2 separate regions of the Homo sapiens genome follow, and region 2 is linked to region 1. The links are contacts of gene promoters, found by promoter capture Hi-C in blood cells and fetal thymus (Javierre and others, 2016). All regions are on one chromosome and are shown on one strand. Each heading gives the region's core, a stretch centred on a gene start or on the middle of the fragment in contact. The rest is flanking DNA. Distances are from core to core; before and after follow the strand shown.

Evidence for each region. The method cuts DNA at HindIII sites, captures the fragments that hold promoters and counts their contacts. A CHiCAGO score of 5 or more calls a contact.
Region 2: a contact is called between a fragment that was not itself captured here and the fragment with the promoter of TRIM32 in region 1, in 2 of 17 cell types (M0 macrophages and M2 macrophages). The highest score is 6.7, in M0 macrophages.

Annotation. Positions count from the first base shown.
Region 1 is chr9:116,684,900-116,688,972 of GRCh38, forward strand. It overlaps TRIM32 (tripartite motif containing 32), which reads left to right and starts at 2,406. Exons shown (of 2, transcript NM_012210.4): 1 at 2,406-2,482. The region is part of intron 16 of ASTN2 (astrotactin 2); the gene reads right to left. RefSeq lists enhancers at 2,073-2,392, 2,833-2,882 and a silencer at 2,463-2,662. The HindIII fragment of the contact is 17,529 bases long and covers 1-4,073 here.
Region 2 is chr9:115,586,603-115,590,675 of GRCh38, forward strand. No RefSeq gene overlaps it. Among named protein-coding and RNA genes, the nearest start is that of LINC00474, 340 kb to the right of the region's middle. The HindIII fragment of the contact is 249 bases long and covers 2,241-2,489 here.

The sequences.
Region 1 (4,073 bases), core at 1,156-3,655:
TGTTCATTCCTGGGCATAGGCTGAACTAACTTTGGGAGAAATTTAGTCTGTAGTTCATAGTTTAAACAAAGACAGTAACAACCCTATCCCAAAGCAGACCTCCTTGCCTGGGTACTAGATTGCCTTTGTAGGACTAACATTAGCCACAAGATTAGAAATTGCGGTTTAGGAGTCATGCAGCTGGAGGTTACAAGATGCTGAGCCTCCCTAAAATGCTTCTGAGATCAGTGCTTGAGATATTTTGCAGACCCTGCACTTGATGGATCAGCTGGCACCACCCAGATCAATAAACTCACTCATCTGATCTTGTGGCCCCCCCACTCAGGAACTGACTCACTGCAAGGAGACAGCTTCGACTCCCTATGATTTCATCCCTGACCAACAGCGCTCCTGGCTCACTGGCTTCCCCCAACCCACCAAGTTATCCTTAAAATCTCTGTTCCCCAAATGCTCAGGGAGATGACTTGAGTAATCATAAAACTCCAGTCTCCCGCACAGCTGACTCTGCGTGAATTACTCTTTAACTATTGCAATTCCCCTGTCTTGATGAATCAGCTCTGTCTAGGCAGTGGGCAAGGTAAACTCCTCAGGTGGTTCCACTGATATAGGTGATTTAAGTGTTAAATAAAAATCTGTTACATTAAAATGCTGAATAAAGAGTGTTTAAAGCACTCCACAAAGATTATTTTTTAAATGCCTCTGTGTAAGAGGAATTCTAATATTGTGCCAGGATATGTCAAGCTATAAGATAAAAATTGAGTGCATTTCCTAGAATGCTTATTCTACTCTAAGATTTTGTGAGAGGTATAATAATTCATTTAACTGGTAATAAACATTAAAGAAGAGTCAAACACTGATTTTTGTTTTAAGGGAGAAGAGAGATTTTTTTTTTTCAAGACACTTGCTTGAGCTAGATCCCCAGGAGTATTTTTAACACTCCTCTGTAATTAGGGAAACATCAGTATGTCTGTATTGATACATATACACACATATATAATATGTATATATGTAAGACTATGAACAGTCCTAAATTTATACTTTGGGCTGATAACTGTGGTTTTCAGGAAAAAAAAAAATTTTAAACGGGTGCAAAGTCTCCCCAACTGGTCTAAGTGAGAAATCATTTGGCATTACCTCTCCCTTATCCCCTACCTGCTAATTACAATTTTTCAAATATAGTTATCATTAAGTGCAAACTACCATAATCTTGGCTTATCTTCATGGCAAACTTCAATTAGAAATTTAGAAAATGGGGAGAAAGAGTAAACAAGGTTAAGAGAGTGGGTTCTCAGATAGAATTGGGTACAAATTTGGGCTCCAACACTTAGGTATATGTGGCCTTGTGTAACCACCTAGGTTACACAACAGGTGTAGGTTAACCATCAGCTGCCTTATCTCATTAGGTCCTTATGAGGATTTAGTGAGCTATGCACCTGAAGTCCTCAGCTGTAGCCAGACAGCAAGTGTTCAAAGATGTTAGTCATTGTTTTTGTTTATTGTTTTATCATTGTGCAGGGTCACATAGCTAAGGGGAATTTCAAATCCAAGTCCATCCTACTTCAAACTCCTTTGTGCTCCTAAGCTGTACAGTATAGTCACCTTGGAGAGTAGGTGATTGGCCCCAAACTACTTCAGGGACTGCAGGTCGTGGCCAGCCAGTCCTGTATCAGACCTCGTCCTTGCCAGATGCCTAGTGCCCCAGATTCCCTCAAATCTCAGGCCAGATCACCTCCCACCTGGTAAGATTCCTCCACCTTCACCCGAGCAAAACTACACTTGGTTTGGGTTCCCGGGTACCTTCAGTCTGCAGGGACAGGGGCTGCAGAGTGTACTCCCCAAGTCTGCCTCTGCTGTCGGCCTCCCAGCTGAGTAGGCAAAACATTCCTTTACAGAGCAATGTGTTCATGGATAAACTTGTCTCTAGTGCAGCTCTCTGTCAGAGCACAGAACATGAGGCCAAAGCACTGCCCTTCCTAGGGAGTCCCGGTTCTCGACTTCCCCAGAATGGAAGTTTGATTTTTCCGTTGGCCCATTTCTCAGATGGAAAAACAGATTCAGTAAGGTGCCAACGCTTTGCTGAGGACTACCCTGGAGGCTACCGTTTTGTGAAGGGGTAGACATTGAGACTGGAGTCAGATACGCATTCTGGCTTATCTCCTGACTTACTGAGTGAACTTGAGCAGGTCCCTTTCGCCCATGGGCGTCGGTTTCTTCATCTGCACCAAGGAGACGGAAAACTGGATTACGTGTCGCTAAGGCCCCGGGTTCTCAGAGGAAAGCTCACCCCTGCAGGGCCGCCTTGCCCCGCGCGCTTGGGGCCAGCTGCACGACAAGCCCCAGCATGCTGGGGAGGCGGGGCTCAGTGACGGACAGGGAGCTCTGCGAATTGGCGCCCGGCAAGGGGTGCTCAACGGCGCGTGCGCAGAGGGAGGCAGGCGGGTGGGCTGCCGGCGGTGGACTCGTCGGAGCCGCGGGCGGTCAGGTAGGGGGCGGGAAGGAGGGTTGGGGACTGGGGACCGCGGCCGGAGTCGTGGGCCGTGGCTCAGCGGCCAGGCGGGGGAACGTGCCGGCGTGCAGCGGCCGCGCCCGAATGGCAGGGTGTGGGGACCGGATCTGGGGGGGGCAGGACTAGGGTGGGGGTGGGGCTGCGAGGGGCAGGCTCGGGAGGGATTCGTGGGGCTGAGGAGATCCGAGGAGATGCAGCTGGGGGAGGGGAGCGAGGGGCTCTGAAGAGATTTGCGGTTGCAGCATCTCGGGAGGTATGAGGTAATGTCGGGGCCCTGAGGAGGAACGGGGTGTAGCATGTGGGAGATGGGAGGGAATCAGGGCCCTGGAGGGACCTGGGTGCAGAATTTCAGAAATATGAAGGAACTGGGGGGCCCCGATGAGATTTGAGGAAATCTGGGGGCGCTAGGCATCTGGCAAGGACAGGGTCTGAGATGATAGGAGCAAGGTCTAGGGCGATCCTAAGTGCTATTGAGAAAGGGTTTTCGGAGTGGGCTGAGGGTGAGATTGAGGGGGTGGGGTGAGTTCTTGAGGGACTCTATCTTGTTAGCAGAAAGAAGGGAGCTGGCTGAGGTGTGAAGGCAGCACATGACATTCAGTGCATAAGAGGAAGGAGCAGGGTATGAGGGCAGCACAGTGCCCGATGGAATGCAGGAGATGGGGGCTCAGATTGAGGGAGAGCAGAAATCTGGGGTGAGGAATTGGGGCGTTGAACTGAGGTGCGGGGCTGAGTGTGGCAGAGATTTGGAAATAGGGATTAAACGATCTGAGTCCGAGGGATTTGGGGCATATGAGTGAGGAATTGACGAGGGTTGCAATATACAGCCCCAAAGATTGGAATTTGGAATTGTAAGAGGGTTGGGGACAGGGTTTGGAGAGGATTGAATCGTGGGGTGGAGATGTCCTAACTGGGCTATAAAATCAAAGGACCCTGAGTAGATTTGTGGATTGGTGTCTTGGGCTGCTAAAGAGATTTTCCTTAAATCGCTGCATGGGAGACAGAGGGAGTTCAGGGGACCCAAGGACCTAAAAGTAATGTATGAAACTGGATGAGTATATGAAGATGAGCAGAGTTCAGGTGCTGAGGAACAAAGTGATAAATCTTCAGTTCAGATAATCCTGAAGGAGTGTGGTAATCCCTGTGAAGGGCAGAATCTTCTTCATTTATTAAACAAAGATCCGTTATCATGAGGCAGGTATGGTATTGCCACTAACTCCATTCTGACCACCGGTCCCCCGGCCCACTGAAAGTGGTAGGCTTTGGGGAAGAAGAAGTGGAACTATTCAAGGTCATCTGCCTAAGCCCTTTTTCCCTGTACCCCCAAGCTACGATAGCAGATAGAAAGTGAGACCTCCAGGGGAATGAGTGGAATAATTTATCCTATATAAGATCCATTACAGCTTGAAGGGGCAGTGGCTCTGTGAGTGAGGTGTTTGGGCTCGGAGACAGACAAAACAACAACAACAACCACCAGAAAAAAAAAAGGGAACCCTTAGGTATTGAGCATTTAGTCCTGTGCTAGACTGTAAAGCAGTGGTTCTTAACCAAGTCTGGCTTTGTCTCCTAG
Region 2 (4,073 bases), core at 1,115-3,614, 1.1 Mb before region 1:
AACTTCTTTTAAAATTAAAACTATAATGATAATAAAAACACTAATCTATCAACATTTAGAATATGAGGAAAACTGTTTTCAAGGGTTAAGTTAGCCGCCTATAATCATATTAAGAAATAAAAATGGCTGTAAATTATTAATGCAAGCATCTAACTTAACTGGTTAGAAAATAACAAGACTAAAGCAAATATAATTAATGAGTTCAAAAGAGTGATATAAACAAAAAGTAATGAAATTTAAACAAAATTAAAAACAAAAGTCAACAAAGCCAAGAAATGGTTTGTTGAAAATGCTAATGAAATTTGTAAACCTCTAGGAAGGTTTACTAACATGAAAAAAGAGACAGTAAGTAATATTAGACATGAAAACAGAGACATATCCACAGATACAGCAGATGATAATACATGAGAATAGCATGACCAATTTTATATTAAAATTGATAACTAAAATGAACATATTTCTAGATAAATATAATTCACTTAAATTGACTCAATAAGAAACAGGAAGTTTGAATCACTCTGTACCATTCAGGAAAAATTAAATAAATAATTGAAAGTCTTCCAAAAAATACCTTCAGGACACTGAGGGAACCAAAGCTGAAAGAGAATACCAAAATCACTAATATAAAGATTTTTTTAAAGTGTATAAATTGGACTGTACATAAACCCTAAAACTTCTCCTGTGGAGCTCTATATTCTCCTTTATTCCTTATCTTCTCTCTGTTGGCGGTCTCCTAGGTTCTATAGTAGGAGTCAGCAAACTTTTTTAGTAACAAGAGGTGATAACAGATATTTTAGGTTTTGTAAGCCACATAGTCTTTGCTGCAGCTACTCAGCTCTGCTGTTGTAGTGCAAAAGCAGCCATAGACAATACATAAATAAATGGATTTATGTTCCAATAAAATTTGTTTCAATAACTTGTGTGTGCTAATAAAACTTTATTTATAAAAGCAGACAGTGGGCTGAATTTTGCCTTTGGGCTATAGTTTGCTGATTCCTGTTCTAGGGCAATAGTTCTTCATCTGCTGTAATTTGGAAAATCTGAGGATCTTTAAAAAACACTGACGATGTTTGGCTCCTACTCCCAGATTCTCTGATTTAATTAGTATGGCATAGGAGCTGGGCATCAGAGTTTTGTATTGTCTTGCTTTGTTTTTTTAAGTTACCAACTTTACCCTAACATGCAGCAAAATCTAATGTGATAGCAGAGACACGAGGTGGAATGAACCAGGGAATTTATTAACTGCTGAGAATAGAGTCCCTGTTGCCAAATTTCATTCAGCTATGGTGGCAGCAAGAAATATACTTTTATTGTGAAAAGTCTTTGGGACACTGAGGTGGTTTGATACAGAATTACTCCGACTAATACATTAATTGGTAAATGGCAGTATTGCCACAGAAAATAAATATGTGTCTTTGGCTTTGTGGTTGGTCAGCTAGAAAAATGATATCAGAGGCTGTGTAGATAACAGACCATATTATGTGGTACAAGAGCATTTGGTAAAAGAGTTGCATGCCATAAGGTGTAAAGCAGACCATTCACTTGGAGAAATATAGCTTTAAGGTACACAGTTGGAAAAAAAAAAAAAACAACAGAGTGGGTATAGCTTGCTTTTTTTTTTTTTTTTTTTTTTTTTTTTTTAAGATGGCTTCTCACTCTGTTGCCATGCAGTGGTGTGATCTGTGATCTTGGCTCACTGCAACCTCCGCTTCTCAGGTTCAAGTGATTCTTGTGCCTCAGCCTCCTGAGTAACTGGGATTACTGGCATGCACCACCATGCCTGGCTAATTTTTTGTATTTTTAGTAGAGACAGGGTCTCACCATATCAGCCAGCCTGGTCTTGAACTCTTGATTTCAGGTGATCCGCTCACCTCAGCCTCCCAAAGTGTTGGGACTACAGGAATGGGCCACGGTGCCCAGCCTATCTTGCCTTCTTTTGGCTGACATTGACAAGGGATAAAGGAAAGAGATGAGCTCCATAAAGAATTTCCCAGTTTGGAACCTCAAATGCAAGATAATTAAAAAGATTCCAGAAATTTGTGGCATTAAATGTTTAGAAAAACCTACTGCTTCTAGGTCTCAAACAGTGAAAGATGAGAAGGTAAATAAATAAATAAATAAATAATTTTTAAAAAGCTATTTACATAGCAAGAATTCAATAAGTAGTCTGAATAACAAAAGGAAAAGTAATTTGGCCCTTCAGTAAAGATAATTCTGAAAAGAGCTACAGTTATCTCTCAAGCTTACTATTCCAGATAACTTCAAGGTTGCTGTCAACACATAAAGATGGGACATGAGGAAGCCTATGAGGAGGATGCAAAAAAAAAAAAAAAAATTTAAAAACTCTATCTGGGACAGAATGTTGGGTGTATTCACTAGTACATGAAACTGATTGGAATCAAATAAATCATAAGCCCACAATATTTTTGAGGAAACAATATTGCCATGAAAGCATCATCCCAGTTCAAAACCCTGCAAGGGCTTGGCAAAGCTTAGAACAACTTTTGGATTGGATATAGGCTGCAAAGTATAAGTAGCCCCCAAGGAAGGCATTCCCAAAGGTCCACTTCAATTGTGGCATAGGAGTGTAATGGATAGGAGAGAACGTCTGAGTTTGCAGCCAAGAGCCACTGAAAACAATGAGTGCCCAAAGAAGTATTGTTCAGAGAACAAAATCAGGGCTTATCCATGAACTTTCTCTCTTCTCCATAGAGGACCTTCACAATGTCTCCCCAGCGAGATTTCAAACTTGCATTAGTCCAGTAACTGCTGTGTGTCTCCTATTTACCTCTTTTCTGAATAGTTACCCAGAACCTGAGAACTCATGTTGTGAACTGATGGAGAAAACTATGCATCAGTGAAGTATCTTGGACCTTGAGCTAGATGAGGTGACTTAGTGGGACTTTGGCTTATTTCTCCTGGGAACAAGCTGAGTGTATTCTATGTATGGGAAGAATAGTAAAATGGATATTCAGTAACCAGAGCTGAGGACTGAAGTAGAAACAATGTGACGTGTTGCCTAAAACATGCTACATGGTTCCTTTTTCTTCTGGAGACAGCTAGACTATGTTTCTCAACTCTCATTGCAATGAACAGACCAAAGAAATATGAGTGGAAGTTATAAATGCTACTTCCAAGTCTGGCTTCTAAAATCTCCTGTGTGATACTTCACATGCTCTTTTTCTCATCCTCTGCAGCTGAATGAAATGAATATAGAGGAGAACTGAAAGGCCATGGAGGATCTGAGCCACTACATGGAAAGAGCAAGGGTCCATGAATGACAGCTTGAAACAGGGTCCCTCTCTGCTGCCAACCTGCATGGATGGAGACATGAATAAGAAATAAGCACTACTGAGTCAAGACAGAGAGATCTGAAGGTTGATTGTTATAGCAGTTGGACTTCCCTATTATCTAATATACTGTGCTATCTTCCAATGCTTAGCTAGTAAGGGGGGCTCTAGGGATACCAGTTAAAGAACTCTGGAATGCATCCCTTGCAAGTCTGAGATATGAAAGGCCACAATTAGGTCATGTTAAGAAATCTAAAGCTGACTGTAGACTGAAGTCTGGCTTCAGTAAATATGAAAGAGAAAAGAAGAGCTGACTAACTGCTTTGAATTAGAGCCAGGAGAGACTGTTGCATTGCTACTGACCTGCAGTTAGAAAGTTCATCAGGGCAAGGAGCCAGTGATTGTTTCCCAGGGAACATGTGTGGGCCAATGATACAGAGCTCACTGGAGTCTTGGTTGGTTTTGTCCAGTAGGTCTGCCTGGAGGGAGAAGGAAAACTTACAAAAGGAGACTGGGGGTATACTTGTGTGTGAAGGCCCAGATAATGAGGACAGATCCCCAGAGACCTCCTAGAATAGCTAGAAAAGCCTGGGGTCAAAGAAGCTGCAGGGGAGGAGTGTCCAACATGAAACCTCTGAGGAGTTCAGGGAAACACCCCAAGAGAAAGGAAGTCAGCTTTAATCTTCGGCAGGGCCTAGAGAGTGAGAAGTCAATCAGGAATAATAAATGACCCATCTCCTTGTCCCCTGTACCCTTTGAACCAGAGGGGAGCAAAACAGAAGC